Regions from separate parts of the Homo sapiens genome. Here region 2 is linked to region 1. Evidence: promoter capture Hi-C in 16 types of primary human blood cells and fetal thymus (Javierre and others, 2016). All regions are on one chromosome and are shown on one strand. Each heading gives the region's core, a stretch centred on a gene start or on the middle of the fragment in contact. The rest is flanking DNA. Distances are from core to core; before and after follow the strand shown.

The links. The method cuts DNA at HindIII sites, captures the fragments that hold promoters and counts their contacts. A CHiCAGO score of 5 or more calls a contact.
Region 2: a fragment that was not itself captured here is called in contact with the fragment with the promoter of TOX2 in region 1 in 1 of 17 cell types (endothelial precursors); the score reaches 7.6 in endothelial precursors.

Annotation. Positions count from the first base shown.
Region 1 is chr20:43,913,224-43,917,215 of GRCh38, forward strand. It overlaps TOX2 (TOX high mobility group box family member 2), which reads left to right and starts at 1,629. Exons shown (of 9, transcript NM_001098797.2): 1 at 1,629-1,767. The coding sequence starts at 1,669. RefSeq lists silencers at 1,280-1,399, 1,500-1,599, 1,620-1,729, 1,780-1,869, 2,940-2,999 and 1 more and enhancers at 1,366-2,083, 2,084-2,801. The HindIII fragment of the contact is 9,025 bases long and covers 1-3,992 here.
Region 2 is chr20:43,539,554-43,543,545 of GRCh38, forward strand. L3MBTL1 (L3MBTL histone methyl-lysine binding protein 1) reads left to right here. Exons shown (of 22, transcript NM_001377303.1): 20 at 598-755; 21 at 1,200-1,262; 22 at 1,381-2,342. The coding sequence ends at 1,575. Among named protein-coding and RNA genes, the nearest start is that of SGK2, 17 kb to the right of the region's middle. The HindIII fragment of the contact is 8,375 bases long and covers 1-3,992 here.

The DNA.
Region 1 (3,992 bases), core at 379-2,878:
TTCATGGGACATTTAGACTTATAAGCCCACAGTAATCCAGACATTGTGATAATGGCACAGGGAGAGAAAAATAGGCTAACAGAACAGAATAGAGAATTCAGGAACAGTCTTATGCACATATCGACTACTTGATTTACGACAATGTTAGCATTGCAGAAGAGTATGTGTGTGTGTGTAGGGGGGTGGTGGTGGTGGTGGTGATCTTTTCAATAAAGAGTGCTGGTCAGTTGGATATCCAGATGAAAAAAATGGACACAGGACAATGGAAATTTTTTTCTGATGAGGTGTGGCATTGTATTTCTAGAAACAATGACTGCTGAAATTTATTTGGAAGTTCTTTCCTTTCTGAGCTATAATTTCCCTCTGTTGTTCCCAAGCCTTCAGTGAATGCCTGTTTCCCACACCTATCTTTTGTTAATGCATCTTTCTTATGGTCCTAGTTCTAGGCCAGGACCAGCAAAGCCCAAGCAGCAGTTGAGAACTAAGTTCTAAGCTAGCTCCTGAGTGGGCAGGAAGCTCAAGTCCTTTTCTCCCAATGGCATCCTATATCCTGGTGCCACACAAGAATGCCATTCTGGCTGACTTCGCCTCCTGGCCTCTCCCAGTCAGACATACCTGGAGCAGTCAGTGAGCAGTGAGATTGCTAGGGGAGATTGCTAGTGTAGACAATTCTTGCATGAAAAGGGGGATGGGGGTGCAACAGTCTAGCAACCAGCAAGTGATATCAAGAACTAGAGGGTTTTTTTTTTTTTTTTGGTTGGGGAGGAACCCCATTTCACAGTCACCTTTCTGACCCACCATCAGAGCCATCCCATTCCAATCTCATTTTCTTCCTTTCCTCACTCCAAGAGACCGTGACTGTGGGCAGATCCTAGACCCCTCTTCAGAGCTTCGGGCTCTAGGCATTCCTGCGGCCCTCCCCTCCCTATCATTAAAAGGGGTGGGGTCCTGCTGCCTTCTCCAAGTGGTTTCAGCTCTGGATCCTTTGGGGGCAACGGAGCCCACCCGCCTGGAGCTCCATTACTGATGCTGCAAGTTTTTGACTCAGTTTCCCCATATGTGAGTGAGAGTTTAAGCGCGGCAATCTCCAGGGGGGGCTGTCAAGCTGACTCAGATCAGTGAGACGAGGAGGGGGCGGGCATGCTAAGAGCATCCTCCGGCGCTGGCCTGCGTCCCCCCAGGTAAGGCAGCACCCATCTCCAAAGTGGTCCTGTCACCACCTTCCTCTTCCCCCCGCACCCACGCCGCGGGGCGGGGACTAGCGCCGCCTCAAATATTTAGGGCAAGGGAGTGTCCCACTTCTGGGGAGGGGTGCCGTTCGGGCTTCTCTCCTCACCGTGGGTGGCGAAAGGCGGGACGGAAAAGCGCCGTCTGGACAGGCGCGCCCCCCTCAGGGATGCAGGGCCGGGCGGGGGACCCGGCGGCGGCCCAGCCCGGAGGAAGGACCTCCACGCCCCGGCCCGGGCCCCCGGGCCCCCGGCCCTAGGCAGCGCCCGAGGCCGGAACAATAGCGCGCGCGGGCGGGGCGGGGGCGGGGGCGGGGCGCTCCTCTGGGCACCGCCCCCGGCCCGCCCCCCGCGCTCGCAGTCCCGCTCGCACACTGGCTCCCACCCGCCGCCCGCCCAGGCACTGCCCGCGGGAGCCGCCGCCGCCGCCGCCGCGCCCGCCATGGACGTCCGCCTGTACCCCTCGGCGCCCGCGGTGGGCGCGCGGCCCGGGGCCGAGCCGGCCGGCCTGGCGCACCTGGACTATTACCACGGCGGCAAGGTAGGCGGGGGCGGGCGGGGGTCCCCGGCGGGCGGGGCCGGAGTCACCTGGCAGCTCGGGACTCAGGCGCTCCCGGGGTCACACGGGGCCGCGCACATCAGCCCCGCCGACGGGCACGGGCGGCTCACATCGATCCCCTCGCGGCCACGCTCACGCCCTGAGTTGTTGGGATCGCGGGCAGAAGTCATCCCGACAGCCACCCGTGCGACGACACAGTGGCCCCTCACTCGCGTCCCCCTGACAGCCTCGCAGTCATTCACAAGCCGTCACAGTGACCCACAGCCACACGCAGGCGGCCAGGCACTGCTTACACGGTCCCGCCGTCCCACGCAAGTCACCCTGACAGTCACTTATACACAACGACACGCAACCACTCACCCGCAAACAGCCTCACCGCCACAGACGAGTCACCCACAGACGCTCCGATGCCCCACACACCGTGACATGCCCCCACCCGCTGTCACACCCAGGCACAACGGGGGACAGTCACACAAAGAAGTCGCCCGACAGTCACACTCTCGCAGCCACAACGCCTCACCCAGGCGCACGCTGTCACACACAGCCACCCCCCTGGACGGTGAGCCTCAGACACAGATCGTCCTGACGGCCACACAGTCACACGCGGTCACACCCAGGGACGGCCACACCTCGGTCATCCACACTCGCGCGTCGAGGTTTAACTTCTCAGCGCCGCAGCACACTAATTGGGCAGTTTACTAATTGGCCGTCACTGCCTGGCGGGGCCTCGGATTCCGAGTAGGCTGCGGCCAATCGAGGCCTGTGTCCTCCCGGGAGCGGTGAGCCGGCGTCCCTCCAGGCTGGGGCTGTAGTGCCGGACACCCTCCCTCCTCCATGTTTCCAGGATCTATCCCCCCACCCCAGCCAGGTCCCAGCTGCGCTGCGCCGGGCGCATTCCCAGTGATGGAGGCTTGCGTGCCTGGAACCCCGAACCCGAGGCGTCAGGTCCCACTGCCGGGTCTGGCCCAGCCTGGATGGGTTGGGTGCCTCTAAGCAGTCCGCGTCCCCTTCGGTCGCCGGAGAGGGAACTTTCAAACTTAGTTAGGAAGCCAGACTGTCCGCGCGTCCGCCAGTCGGTGCGTCGGTCCCGGGCCGGCTGGAGCCAAGCGCGGGTTTTCGTCACTCGGAGCCCGGATTGAACAGCGCGCGTGGGTTTCCCGCAGCCCTGGCGCAGACGCGTGGGCTCCGTGGCGATGCGGGGTGAGTGCGCGTCCAGTGGCTGGATCGGCGCCCCCCAGGGTCTCTCCCCAACCTCGCAGGCTTTTCGTCAGGCCCCTGGTAGTGGGGATGAGGCAGGAGAGAGGCGTCCCGGCGCGGATCCCGGGGCCTCCCGGGCTGGGCCTCCCTGAGTGCGCCCTCAGGCCCCAGGGGAGCGGCTTCTGGCAAAGCCTCCCTGCAGTTCGCCAGGGGCAGCAAGCATCCAGGCCACTAGGGCCTGCGCGATGTGGGGCGGTGGTGGGCGACAAGTGAGGTCTCGCGAAGAGTGGCGGTGGTTCTCTTTTGTCCAGTGACCTGCAAAGTTAGAAGCCGATGAGGGGGGATGGTAGCCTCAGGAGAAGGCCGGGAGCTGCCTCCAGTCTGATGGAGGAAAATAGATTAAAAGTAGCAAGTGGAGTTTTCAGGGAGGAGAAGGTTGGGTGTGGGGGCAGCTGGTCTGTCTTCTGCCCTTGGCTTTGTTATTTTTCAAAATGTGAAGTTGGCGAGGTAGGTACCAGCCTCTGGTTTGCGGGTGTGGGTGGGCTGGGCATTTGTGCCTCAAAGTCTGAGTGGGTGGGGGTTTAGCCTGGAGCGCTCCGTTTGAGGGTGGTGTTTCTATAAATCTCGCCAGGGTGGGGCTGTCCCAAATAGGGGCCTTTGGAGGCAGGACTCAGCCGAGGCCCCTGCTTTATTCTGATGCTCTGTAAACCTCTGACTCAGCACCAGAACCTGTGCGAATCTCGCCGGGAAGGGCCCGTCAGGGAGGGAATGAGAAGCCGGCGATTCTGGTTTCTTTCTGTGTGGGATGTAGGACCCCTGGCCCATAGCTGAGGATGTGTCCAGAGTGGGGCGGGGCAGGGATGGGGGTGGGGATGCAGCTGAGCCACTTGATAGGTGAAAGGAAGGTCTGACTTTGCACTTGGATGTGAAATCTGCTACTCAGTCCTTCAGGCTAGAGCAGGGTGAGGCGGGAGGGGAGAGGTCACTGTATTCATTTAGGGGCTAGAGGT
Region 2 (3,992 bases), core at 714-3,213, 370 kb before region 1:
ATCACCCTCTAGTGCTGGCATAGGCAGTAGTACAGACCGGGCTGGTGGAGGAAGGGGAGGAACTGGAGCTTGAGGCAATGGCAGTGGCCAGAGGGGTGGTCTTCAGCCTGGTCAGGGGGACTGTGATTCTGAAGCAGAATCACCCTGGCTCTGAGAAAGTTGGTCGTGGCCCGGAAGGACTCATGAGAAGAAGAGTAAACAGAGTGGACTTCTGACATCAAGGCTGAGCTTGTTTGGATGTTAAGGACCCTTTTGATGGTTGGCATCTAGAAAATTATGTCTTTAGAGATGCTGCAGCAGCTCCAAGAGAGTATCCTTGCAGGGCCCAGGGTGGTGCAGCCTCAGAGAGACGGGGTGAGGGTCATTCCGAATAGCTGACCTGAGAGTCTTTAAGAGAGTCACTTTACCAGCAGGAGTGAACACTGTGTGAGGAGTCAGGAGATACGGCTCACCCTCTTGACTCTACAGGCTGTCAGAAGGGGCCCGGAGTCCTGTCTACTCTGCCAGCCAGTCTCCTGAGTGGTGTGGGTATGCATGGGCTTCGGGAACAGTTTAGTCATCCTCGTTGGCCTGCCAGCCTCTGCCTCTGCTTTCCAGCCCTCACGCCCGATGTCGTGCACCAGTCCCTCTTCATGTCAGCCCTGTCGGCCCACCCTGACCGCTCACTCTCAGTGTGCTGGGAGCAGCACTGCAAGCTCCTGCCAGGAGTAGCGGGCATCTCAGCCTCGACAGTCGCCAAGTGGACCATCGATGAGGTGAGGAGCGAGGGCCCTTCTTTATCCTTCTCTTCCTCTCCTCCTCCCTCTCACCATACCCTGGTGGAAAGGCCCAGGTCAGGTAGAACCCGGTACCACTCCTGGCACTACCTCTTGCTCATCTGTCCTGTGCACAGTCCCTTCTAGCTGCCCAGTAGGGGCTGACTGAGACCCTTCCTGATAGGTCCATTATGGCAGAGGGGGCGGGGGCTGTGCTGCTGTTTCAGCCAGAAATCCAGCAGGAGAGGCAGGCTTCGGTCCCAGGCCTCAGAAGCAAGGGGCCCAACTTGGCACATCTGCCAGCATAGAAACCCTAGGATCCTTTTAGGCTGGTGAGAAAAAGCAGCATTGGCACAGCTCAGAAGCACCTAGGCTGTGGAGGCCAGCTCTCCCTACATGCCTAAGCTCTGTCCCCTGGTCAACATGTCATCTTTGGTTTCCAAGGTCTTCGGCTTTGTTCAGACCCTGACAGGTTGTGAGGACCAAGCACGCCTCTTCAAAGACGAGGTAAGGTGCAAGTGCAGAGTGGGAGACAGAGCCGGGGTCACTGTCCTTAAGACGGCAGGAAGCAGGTGCCCTCCCCAGCGTCACTTCTGCTAAGGAGGGACCCGTGTTGCCCCACCAGGCAAGAATAGTCAGAGTGACCCATGTATCTGGGAAGACTCTAGTCTGGACTGTGGCCCAGCTTGGGGACCTTGTGTGCTCAGATCATCTTCAGGAAGGAAAAGGCATCCTGGAGACAGGAGTCCATTCACTCCTCTGCTCTCTACCCACTCATTTGCTTGCCAAACTTAGCTTTGCCAGTGATAGTCAATATTAAAGTGTACTTTTTTCCCCTTTAATCCAATATAGTTGATAATTAAAGTGTATTTTGAATGACACAGATATTGTGATTTACTGCAAGGATCCTAACACACACTTAAAATCAAGAGCCAAGGAGTAGTGAGTTGTAGATAAAAAAAGAATGTCAGCTTTGGAGACAGTCTGGGTTTAAATCCCAGTTCTGTCAATTTGAGCTGTTTACTGTCTCTGAGCCTACATCTTCTTGTCTGTAAAATGGAGATAAAATGGGTTTAATGAGGTCTACCTTGCAGAGCCATTGTGAGCATTGGAAATGATGAATGAATCATACCAGAACGTCTAGTATAATTACAGTCATGCATTGCTTAACGATGGGGATACATTCTTAGAAATGTGTCACTAGGCAATTCTGTCATTGTGTAAACATTATAGAATGTACTTACACAAACCTAGATGTTATATGTATTTTTATTTACATGTATATTTTCACATGAAATACCAAATGTCACAGCATTATTACTGAATGTCAGTCATTTCCCCTACTTGATCTGCAATGCCAATATCAAGGGCCATGTATCAGGTTTCTGTATATGTTCCACTATAATCTTATGGGACCATGGTTTTAAATGTGGAATCATTGACAGAAATGTCTTTATGTAGCATATGGCTGTGTATCACTAGTATATAATAGAGCAATATTATGGAGGAATATGTAGATCCAATCACTTTACCTATACAAAATGACTGCTATGGTGGGAACACAATAAACACCAGTTTTGACTTTTAGTGCATAGTTGTCCTTAAGTAAAGAACTTTGTCGGCCGGGCACAGTGGCTCACGCCTGTAATCTCAGGACTTCGGGAGGCCACGGTGGGTGGATCACCTGAGGTCAGGAGTTCAAGACCAGCCTGGCCAACATGGTGAAACCCTGTCTCTACTAAAATTACAAAATTAACTGGGTGTGGTGGCATGCACCTGTAGTCCCAGCTACTCGGGAGGCTGAGGCAGGAGAATCACTTGAACTTGGAAGGAGGAGGTTGCAGTGAGCCGGGATTGCACCACTGCACTCCGGTCTGGGCAACAGAACGAAACTCTGTCTCAAAAAACATAAAAAGAAAGTAGTTGGCTCTTCTTGCCCTGGAAGAGTGTCTGTATCCAAGCCCAGCACAGCCAGTTTCCTCCTTTGAGCTGTGTGTGGTGGAGCTCCCAAACTCCTCCCACTTCCAGGTGCTTTCCTTGCCCTCTGTGTTGGTGATCTTCTCTTCATGTACGTGTCCAGAGCTGAACTCCCTGTTTTCGATGGCCTCTGGCCAACATAGAACACACCGGGGTGCTGCTCCCCTAGAAGTGTTTTAATTGAGATAAAATGCCTATAGAGAGATAGGCACACATCTTGAAAGTACAATTTCACAGGTTTTATGACATGTCTGCCCTTGAACTCAACATTTCAATCAAGGTACAGACATTTCCTCTCGTGTTAAGTCATACAAAAAAAATTTAACAAAAAAAAAAAAAAAAAAAGAAAAGAAAAAGATACAGACATTTCCCTCATACCAGAAAGTTCTTTCTCAGCCCCTTTTAGTCAGTCCGCACCCCAAAAGACAACCACTTTTCTAATTTCTAGCGTCATAGATGAGCTTTGCCTGTTCTGGAACTCATATAAATGGAATCATAGAGCATGTACTCTTCTAGGTCTGTCTCTGCACAGTGTCATGTTTTTGAGGCTTCTCCACGTTGTTATCTGTATCTGTAGTTTGTTTATTGCTGACTGGTGTTCCATTTCATGAGTATACCATAATTTCTTGTTAATGGTCAACATTAGGGTTATTTTCTCTTCCCCTAGATTTGAACCCTATTTTTTTGTTAGCAAAACTTAAGTTTGCCCTAGCTTTATTATAGCCACATCACACTAGTTTGGGGTTCATAAAAGCCCCCAGGTGGTTTTCATGTCAACTACAGTCGAACCAAATTTTCCAGTGAGTACTTGCACCACTGAGTTTTTTTTTTTTTAATAACCTCATGTAAAACTTTACATCCACCCTATTAAATGTTATCTGGTTGGTTTCATAGCCTTGTTTTAAATCTTGATTCTGTCATCTACGATGTTAATAAGGCTTTCCAACCTCATACAGCTTGCACATTTGATAACTAAGCCTTCTGTGTCTTTGTCCAAGTCTTAACATGTTTTATGAGAAGGCAGAACCACGTGGCACGCTGTTTCAAACCTTTCTGTCGGTTGACCACAGGTCTTCGAATGTAGTTGTTCAGCCAGCTGCAGAGCCACCCAAGTTTCATCCTCCAGCCTATGCTTGGCTTTACATTCTCTTCTTCTTGTGACAAGGGCTGTGTCTCCCAGGAACATTTGCTGTGTCTCTTGGTTCAGCATGGTCTGTGATATAAAAAACTAGTGGCCAAAGGGAGGTGTACTGGTAGACT